Regions from separate parts of the Homo sapiens genome. Here all the other regions are linked to region 3. Evidence: promoter capture Hi-C in 16 types of primary human blood cells and fetal thymus (Javierre and others, 2016). All regions are on one chromosome and are shown on one strand. Each heading gives the region's core, a stretch centred on a gene start or on the middle of the fragment in contact. The rest is flanking DNA. Distances are from core to core; before and after follow the strand shown.

Region 1 (2,700 bases), core at 173-2,672, 180 kb after region 3:
GCTTGATACCCAGCCTTGGTTCTGTGCCAAGCATTACTGCAGGATCTCCAGCCAGTTCAGCACGTTTACCTAGGACAGCTGGATCTGGGGGCTCATCCAGAAAGAGCTTTATTGGAAGAGAGAAAGGAAATATTTTGGTCTTTTAAGTTGAATGATACAGTAAACCACTTGATTCAATAACACTGGTTTTAGTCATTGAGAGTTGTCTCCAAGGAACCACTTTAAAATCCAAATCAGCTTTCAGTCTAAACATAACTTGATTAGTTTTTTTTTTCAGAGGGTCAGTACAGGATGAATTAAAAACCTAAAAATATGGTTCATAAATGTAAGCTAGATAAATTTTGTTTACATTTTTTCAATATCTTAGGTTCGATATACCTTTGGAATATTTAATTATATTTTGGATATAAATTGGACTTCATTTAGGGTGAGGGCAAACTTAAGCTGAGAAAATGGTTAAGAAATCTGAGTTTATTTAATTTATATGTAACCTTTTATAGTGGTGGGACTGTTTGGGTACAGAGATGTTTTATATTTATTTGCAGGGTATATCCGAATATTTTAAAAATTAATTGAATAACCAGTACTTCTAGATGATAAGTTTGTCAGCATGAGCAGAAATGAGAATTTCAGGATTACTTACAATTGACCACAACCTGGAGTAGGTGAATGAACATGGATTCAGTGGCACTTTACAGATCCGCTTGGGAGGGGCTGCTGTCATCAGCCTTTTCAGTAGAGCTGAGTGCCTGTTGTTTTAATGATGATGACTACTGTACCCTGTGTACCTGTTCCCAGAGCGCCTCCAAAATTAATTACTCCTCTGCACCTTTCCCAGTCATCTTAATTAGCTTGAGGGCCTCATTTTTTATGAACAAGAGTTAAGTATCTGTTAACTTTTTAAAGCTTGATAGAGATATAATTAACACATACTCTGGAAAGTTACTCTCTTTCACTGTCAAAAAATTGATTGATCACAGTTTTCCAAAATATGGTTCTGGATAAGATCCCTTAGGTTTCCCGAAATTTCAGCCTGGCTTGTTTTGTACCACGCAGGAGGTCATTTTGGGAGTTTGCTCTTTGGATTGTTCTTGGTAGAAGTCTGGAATCTGAATAGTTCAACCACAGTTGCATGGAACACTTTGAGTGTTCAACTGCATTATGTGGTCTTGATAAATTTTTAAAAATCCTATTTTGATAGTTTTTAAAAGTGGAAAACCATTACAAGAGTTGAGTGGATAGGGAATGTAAGAATGTAGTTTTAGAAAAATTCAATTATATTTGGTTATCACTGGTATTGTATTGTTATTGAGCTACCTTGTTATCATTTTAAGAAAAATAAGTTTATATACTGGGAACTATGTTGGGAAAATGTTGCCATAGTAACTTTATTTTTTATAATAGAATTTTCTATTTTTGACCAAACATAAAATATTTGGATATGGGCCAGGCATGATGGCTCATGCCTGTATTCCCAGCACTTTGGAAGGCCAAAGCAGGAGACTCGGTTGAGGCCAGTAGTTTGAGACCAGCCTGGACAACATAGTAAGATTCATCTCTACAAAAAAAAAAATTAGCCGGATGTGATGGCACATGCCTGTAATCCCAGCACTTTGGGAGTCTGAGGCAGGAGGATCCCTTGAGTCCAGGAGTTTGAGGCTTCCATGAGCTATAATCACACCACTGCACCCCAGCCTGCATGACAGAGTGAAACCCTGTCTCTAAAAAGTCTGAATATGAAAATTATATTGGCAGCATACTCAGACATAAACTCCAAAGTTGTCTCTACACTGATTTCACATCTGCATAATTTTCTGCATACCCAGCAGGTGAATTTTCAGTTTTTCTGGGAGACAATTTTGAAGAGATGGTGAAATAGAATGGGAAGTTAAGGAGGGGAGGTAAAATGTTTTAAATGAGAAGAACAAAAAAGCTTTAAAAGTCAATAACACTTTGGGAAGCTGAGGTGGGCAGATCACGAGGTCAAGAGATCGAGACCATCCTGGCTAACATGGTGAAACCCCATCTCTACTAAAAATACAAAAATTAGCTGGGCACGGTGGCTTGTGCCTGTAGCCCCAGCTACTCAGGAGGCTGAGGCAGGAGAATCTCTTGAACCCGGGAGGTGGAGGTTGCAGTGAGCCGAGATCGAGCCACTGCACTCCAGCCTGGTGACAAAGCAAGACTCCGTCTCAAAAAAAAAAAAAAAAAAAGTCGGTAAGAACGGCTTAAAAATGGACTGTTTTCTTTTCCTATGTGGCATTGGGTTGCCATGTAGACCTGTACCCCAGGTGCTTTGGGCATCTGAGCCTATGATCCATATTCAGCAGGCAGTAAAGAAACGGTCCTTGAAGATGAGTCCTTCCTGGTAATGCTTCCTGACCACCGAGGCACTACCAGAGATGTTATCCACACCAGGTCGAATGTGTGGATATCAGTTAACATCTACATGGGGTGAGATTGACTTTTGCAAACAAAAGGGAAAAGATGCACTAGAAAAACAGTACAAGTAATGACCACAAAAACATTGTTTGACTGAAATCCAGCTAGCTAAAAGAATCCTCAGCTCACTGAAGGAAGAGACTGAAAATAGGAAAGAAGTTCTGGTGATTTCATCCGAGGGAAATCCCCAGGCTTAGGTTTGACTTGGTTCAGGGTTGGAGGTTTATAGCCTCTTGTGTGATCCTTGATACCAGCAAA
Region 2 (2,700 bases), core at 197-2,696, 150 kb after region 3:
CGCCCAGATGAGAAACAAAAAGAACAGTGACAAGGCTGCTACAAGCATGCAGGCCAGAGATAGTGGGAGCAATGAGAAAAGAAGTGTGTGCATTTGAAAGACATTAGAAGTAGATTTGGCAGGCCTTAGTGATCAAGTGGGGAGGGAAAGAAAAGGGAAATTAGGGATGCCTTCTGGGGTTCTGGGTTAAGCAACTGAGAAACTGGTGATGCCCCTTATGTAGGCAGGGAACAGTGGGGGAGATGCTGGAATGGAAATGAAGGTGATATATTCAGTTGTGGAAATGTACAGTGTGAGGTGATGTCAAACGATGTTGAGGCTTGTGGCTATTTGGGGCTGAAACTCAGGGACAAAGGCTAGGTTGGAGATACAGCTTTGAGAAACATCACTTGTAGAAACTGACTGGAACTATGTAGTGGATAAGACTGCCTAAGGAGAATGTGATAGTTTCTCTTATGGCAGAGGAAAAGAAGCTGCAATGGAGACTGAGGGGAGAAAGAGACTAGAGATATAGGAAGAGGAAAACCAGGAGAGTGGGGGTTATGGCTTTTTTTTTTTTTTTAAACAGTGACTGAAAAGGACATACAGGACAGCAATGACAAATGCTGTTGAAAGGTCAAGGAAGGGGTGGGTGCAGTGGCTCACACCTGTAATGCCAGCACTTTGGGAGGCCGAGGTAGGCAGATCACTTGAGGTCAGGAGTTTGAGACCAGCCTGGCTAACATGTTGAAACCCTGTCTCTACTAAAAATACAAAAATTAGCCAGGCATGGTGGCACAGGCCTGTAGTCCCAGCTACTTGGGAGGCTGAGGCTGGAGGATCACTTGAATCCGGCAGGCAGAGGTTGCAGTAAGCCTCAGTGCCATTGCACTCCAGCCTGGGTGACAGAGCGAGACTCTGTCTCAACAACAACAACAAAAGAACAAGGAAGAATAAAGACTAGGTCTTTGAGGAGGGCATTTTCAGTGATATGGTGAAACAGGTATCAGAACTGCAGGGGACTGAGAAATAATGAAAGGTGAAGGTGAAGCAATGGAGTGTTCACATATAGACCACTTTTTCCATGAGGTTTGGTTGTAAAGGGGAGAGGGGAAAGAAGGTGGTAGCTGGAAGGAGAGGAGTTGTCTGGAGCTAAGGGACATCACTTTGATGGTTGCTCTTTCTTCAGTAACGGAGGTTCCTGGGAGAGCAAGCGGGGGAGGGGGGGTTGAAGAGTGGGAGATCTGGGGAGCATGCAGGATATTTGGAAGTTGATTTTGGGGGAGAGCTGGAGAGAGAGCTGCCTTGGCAAATAGGAGCGCTGAAAGGTGTTGAGGACCTAGTTGAAGTTGACAATGTATGTAGCACTGATCTGTGTGGTTGTGAGATTTTGTCCAGCAGCACTTAGAGCCAAGAAGCAGATTCAGAGAAGACAGAAGGTTGGATTCTTCCAGGATTGTAGTGCTGCCAGATGGGTGTTACTATCCTTCTAGTTATGCCAGAAAGATAACTGTGCAAGGAATATAAGTATATTGGGAAGAATGTGATGGAGGTGATAAACCCTGAACTCTCAGCTGATGGGGAAGGAAATGAAGACTCGATGGAGCTTATAAATAAAACAAAGTAGAGGGACAAATGAACTGGAAGTTTCTGCAGGCTAGAGAAACCATGAAAGGAATTCAGAGAATAGCAGAAGGACAGATGAAAGATCAGGTGTCTGCATTTATAACTTCAGAGGTGGAGCTCTTCTGTGGTCCAGGGTGTTACCCTAGGAGTGGAGGACTGAAGAGGACTGGAAGAGAAAGACTCTGGAGTTGACTGTGAACCTGGAGCCAAAGTGAACAATGATTGGAGATGAGAGCTAGGACTTTAGGTACTACATCTCACCCCTGTTGTCCAATCTACCATGGTGCCTGAACCACACCAGTTGCACCAGTCAGAGAGTGTAAGGTCCTGTTCTAAAGCACTCGCACCACAAGTTTTGAGAGCCCAATTCCCCATATTTGTTTGTTTGTTTTGTTTTGTTTTGTTTGTTTTTTGAGATGGAGTTTCGCTCTTGTAGGTCAGGCTGGAGTGCAATGGTGCGATCTCGGCTTACTGCAGCCTCCTCCTCCCAGGTTCAAGTGATTCTCCTGCCTCAGCCTCCCAAGTAGCTGGGATCACAGATGTCCACCATCACGCCCGGCTAATTTTTGTAATTTTTCAATAGAGACGGGGTTTTGCCATGTTGGACAGGCTGGTCCCTGACCTCGTGATCCACCCACCTTGGCCTCCCAAAGTGCTGGGATTATAGGTGTGAGCCACCACACCTGGCCCCAATTCCCCATATTTGAAGAGCACTTATGCTACAGGGTTTTCAATTGCCTTTACCAACCCTGAATCTCCTGGTTTTTCTCCTTCTTTGTGCCTGTTATGACCTACCCTCATTATCAGAGACTCATTGTGGGAGGGGACTACACAAGGGTATAAATCCCAGGAGGTGGTGAACCCTGGAGGCTATCTTAGACTGTATCACAATTCTCTTCAGTTTTCATTTTGTAATTTTTCTCTGGCTATGTAAGCCCCACTTCGATTTCCGCCCATATGATGCTGACTTTCAAAAGTCTATGTCCCGGCTAGGCGTGGTGGCTCACGCCTGTAATCCCAGCACTTAGGGAGGCCAAGGCGGGCAGATCACTTGAGGCCAGGATTTCGAGACCAAACTGGCCAATATGGTGAAAC
Region 3 (2,733 bases), core at 137-2,636:
CAACCACATGTGGGTGGGGCCGCCTGGAGAAGCGGACCCACTCAGAGACGTCAGTCTCTGACCTGCCCCGCATGCAGGGCCGTGCACCTCCCTCTGGAACCTGAATGTAGAACAGCTTCCTGGCCCAGTCACCGTCCTCACACCATGTAGCTTTCTTTCTGAAGAGAGGCATTATTAGATGTCATTATCATGCAAGTAGTGCCTTCACCAAACAGGCCTCGCTTTTCACTCCTGAAAAGAAGCCTCTTTCATATCCTCTGAAAGCCCCGAAATCAAGCCAAGATCCCCTCCTGCCTTCTCTAGGCCTCTGAGCCAAAGCCCTGAGGATGGAACCCACATCTGTTCCTACAGTATCTTCGGAATAAAGGAGTGGGTGAGGGGTCCAGTGGCCGCGAGGTCAGCCCTGCCTATACCCAGTTCCTGGAGGACCCAGGCCTGACCAAGTCCCCGGCCTCAGCAGGCGATCATGTTGGCAGGCTTGGATCTTCTCGGTAAGAAAACAATGGGAGGGAGGGGTTGGAAAGTGAACATTAATTATTCGGAAGAAAGGTTGTTTCTTGCTACCTCTGATGGGAAGCCACAGGTGCAATTTTAAGATGACTATGCTGTTGTTCTTCCAATACGTGGGCCTCTCCTATGACATTAGCTCTGCGTCTGCAGAAATGAGCCGGTTAGGCCCAGATTTTATCACTTCAAGAGCATGCTGGTTGCAGCTCTCTGTAAGAGCCTTTCTGAGCTGGCCTCAAAAGTTTTCTGCCCCTGGGGCCTTCAAACAGACCCGTGTTGGGTTGTTCAAGGCTCTGGTGTCTCCTGTTCTGTCTCATTTTGAGCAAACAAGAGTTCTGGAAAGAAGGGCAGCAAATCCACAGGACTGCTGCAAGGGTTTCCTGGACCCCTGCTGGCCACTGCTCCACCTCACATGCAGAGGTGAGGCCCAGTAGGGCCTGGTCTGCCTTCCCAGGCTGATGGGCCCCTTCCGCCTTTACACAGCTCTGTGACCAGCCTGGGCCACACACTGGTGGAATCTGCTCTCACGAGGCCTTCCCTGCCCAGTCCCCACAGGACCTCACCTAGGTATGGACCCCCGACCCCCGGACTCTCACAGTTTTTTCCCATTCTTGATTGCTCAACCAGTATTGCCATCCCATTAAAAGGAGGGGAAACTGAGGCCAGGCAAAGTCCAGGGACTCTTCCAAGGTTACATAAAGACAGGGAGGATCAGGGAAGTCCTGTCCAAGATGATAGAGTAAGCAGCTTCAGAACTAGAATCTTGGCCTCTGACTCCCAGGCTAGGGTTCCTACCTGCTACGTGAGAATTAACCTGAGGAACCTTCCTGGGCCTGGCTTCTAGCACCTTCCCTCATCTTCTCTTGCTCATTGAGAATCAGCCTCTAAGGGGAGAATTTCACATGATATGGGTTCCCACTGATATCCCCTCAGACCTTGGGCCCCCTCTTTGTTGACAGAATCAAGCCAGAGGGTGTAAATGGGCCCTTTGTTCCTACTGCCAGCCCATAGACAAAGGACAGCGTTGTCCTGCCTCTAAGCCCTGTCCCGAGCCCTGCCCACTGTCCACTGGAGCCATGCTCCTGCTGTCAACACTCCCCACCCTGACCCCTCAGGCAGGTCAGCTCAGGTTCCAGGCAAAGCCTCCAAGTGGCCCCAGTCCCTCATCTCTGTGGCTCCAGGCAAACTGGTCCTTCTCTGGGCTGCTATCCCCGAAAAGTGGGGGACAGCATGCTGCTGACACTTGGCAGCATAGGGTCTGTGGGCCAAAGCTGCCCCACCCATCAGGCTGGGGTCATAAAGGCACTTGGGGAGAGTGGGCTGACACTGAGCCACAAGGCATGTGCCACGCTCCTTAGGGTGGGAGGTCTTGTCACAGCACAGGGAGATTGGGGAGGCTCTGCCTCTCTGAGGTTTTAGTCACAGTAAAGAGAGCAGGAAGATGGACAAGATGACCCCTTCGAGCCCCTTCCAGGCCTGTGTGGCTGTGACCTCTGTGCCACACAGAAATACAGGAGCTGCTCTGTGCCTTGGCTGCCCAGACTGCTGGTTGTCAGGCTTGTTTCTTCCACAACACACAAATACTTACTAAACTCGACCATGTGTGGGCCCTACCCTCATGGAGCTTACAGTCCCCTCCCACAGGTGACAGGACAGGAATTCACAGGGCAGAGTGATCCCAGAGAGTATGTCTATTCGGGCTGGCATGGTTTGAACCCATTCCCTTCAGGTGACTCTGGTGGGGTGCCTGGGAGGAGGGCAGAGTGAAGAATCGGCCCTTTGCTCCTGCTCCTCCTCTTCCCACATTCTAGAACTGGGGAAATGAATGGGGCTTTCCAAACTGCAGTGCACACACAGAGCCCCTGCTGATCAGCCAGGTCAAGTGTGGGTTCTGATTCAGCAGGTCTGGGGTAAAGCCTGGGATTCTGCATTTCTAACAAGCTGCTAGGAGATGCCAGAGCCACCGATTCAGAGACCACTTGTAGTAGCAAGGCCTTAGAGCATATTTAGGAGTCACAGAGGGGTCTGCAGTTCTCGGAGCCCATCTAAACCACCCCTCTCAATGTTTAGTGGGGGAACTGGGGCCAAGAGAGAGGAAGAGACCTGCCCAAGACCACCGAGAAGTCAGCCCTCAGGATCACATGCCCCAGCCCAGTTTTCAGTACACTGCCCAGCTCTGCAGCCTTCCCTATGCCCTGTACTGCTAGAAAAGTAAGCTCAGGGTCT

Evidence for each region. Contacts are between HindIII fragments. The CHiCAGO score rates a contact against its expected background, and 5 or more counts as called.
Region 1: a fragment that was not itself captured here is called in contact with the fragment with the promoter of CCDC13-AS1 in region 3 in 1 of 17 cell types (M0 macrophages); the score reaches 5.4 in M0 macrophages.
Region 2: a fragment that was not itself captured here is called in contact with the fragment with the promoter of CCDC13-AS1 in region 3 in 2 of 17 cell types (M0 macrophages and M2 macrophages); the score reaches 7.2 in M0 macrophages.

The regions. Positions count from the first base shown.
Region 1 is chr3:42,550,382-42,553,081 of GRCh38, reverse strand. It overlaps SEC22C (SEC22 homolog C, vesicle trafficking protein), which reads left to right. Exons shown (of 7, transcript NM_032970.4): 7 at 1-2,700. Among named protein-coding and RNA genes, the nearest start is that of VIPR1-AS1, 19 kb to the right of the region's middle. The HindIII fragment of the contact is 1,027 bases long and covers 909-1,935 here.
Region 2 is chr3:42,584,448-42,587,147 of GRCh38, reverse strand. It overlaps a transcript of SEC22C not described here and a transcript of SS18L2 not described here. Among named protein-coding and RNA genes, the nearest start is that of SEC22C, 3.8 kb to the right of the region's middle. The HindIII fragment of the contact is 5,967 bases long and covers 1-2,700 here.
Region 3 is chr3:42,731,228-42,733,960 of GRCh38, reverse strand. It overlaps CCDC13-AS1 (CCDC13 antisense RNA 1), which reads right to left and starts at 1,386. Exons shown (of 4, transcript NR_046732.1): 1 at 1,303-1,386. CCDC13 (coiled-coil domain containing 13) reads left to right here. Exons shown (of 16, transcript NM_144719.4): 11 at 352-491; 12 at 991-1,074. RefSeq lists enhancers at 1-154, 155-840, 1,370-1,664 and a silencer at 1,370-1,664. The HindIII fragment of the contact is 15,297 bases long and covers 1-2,733 here.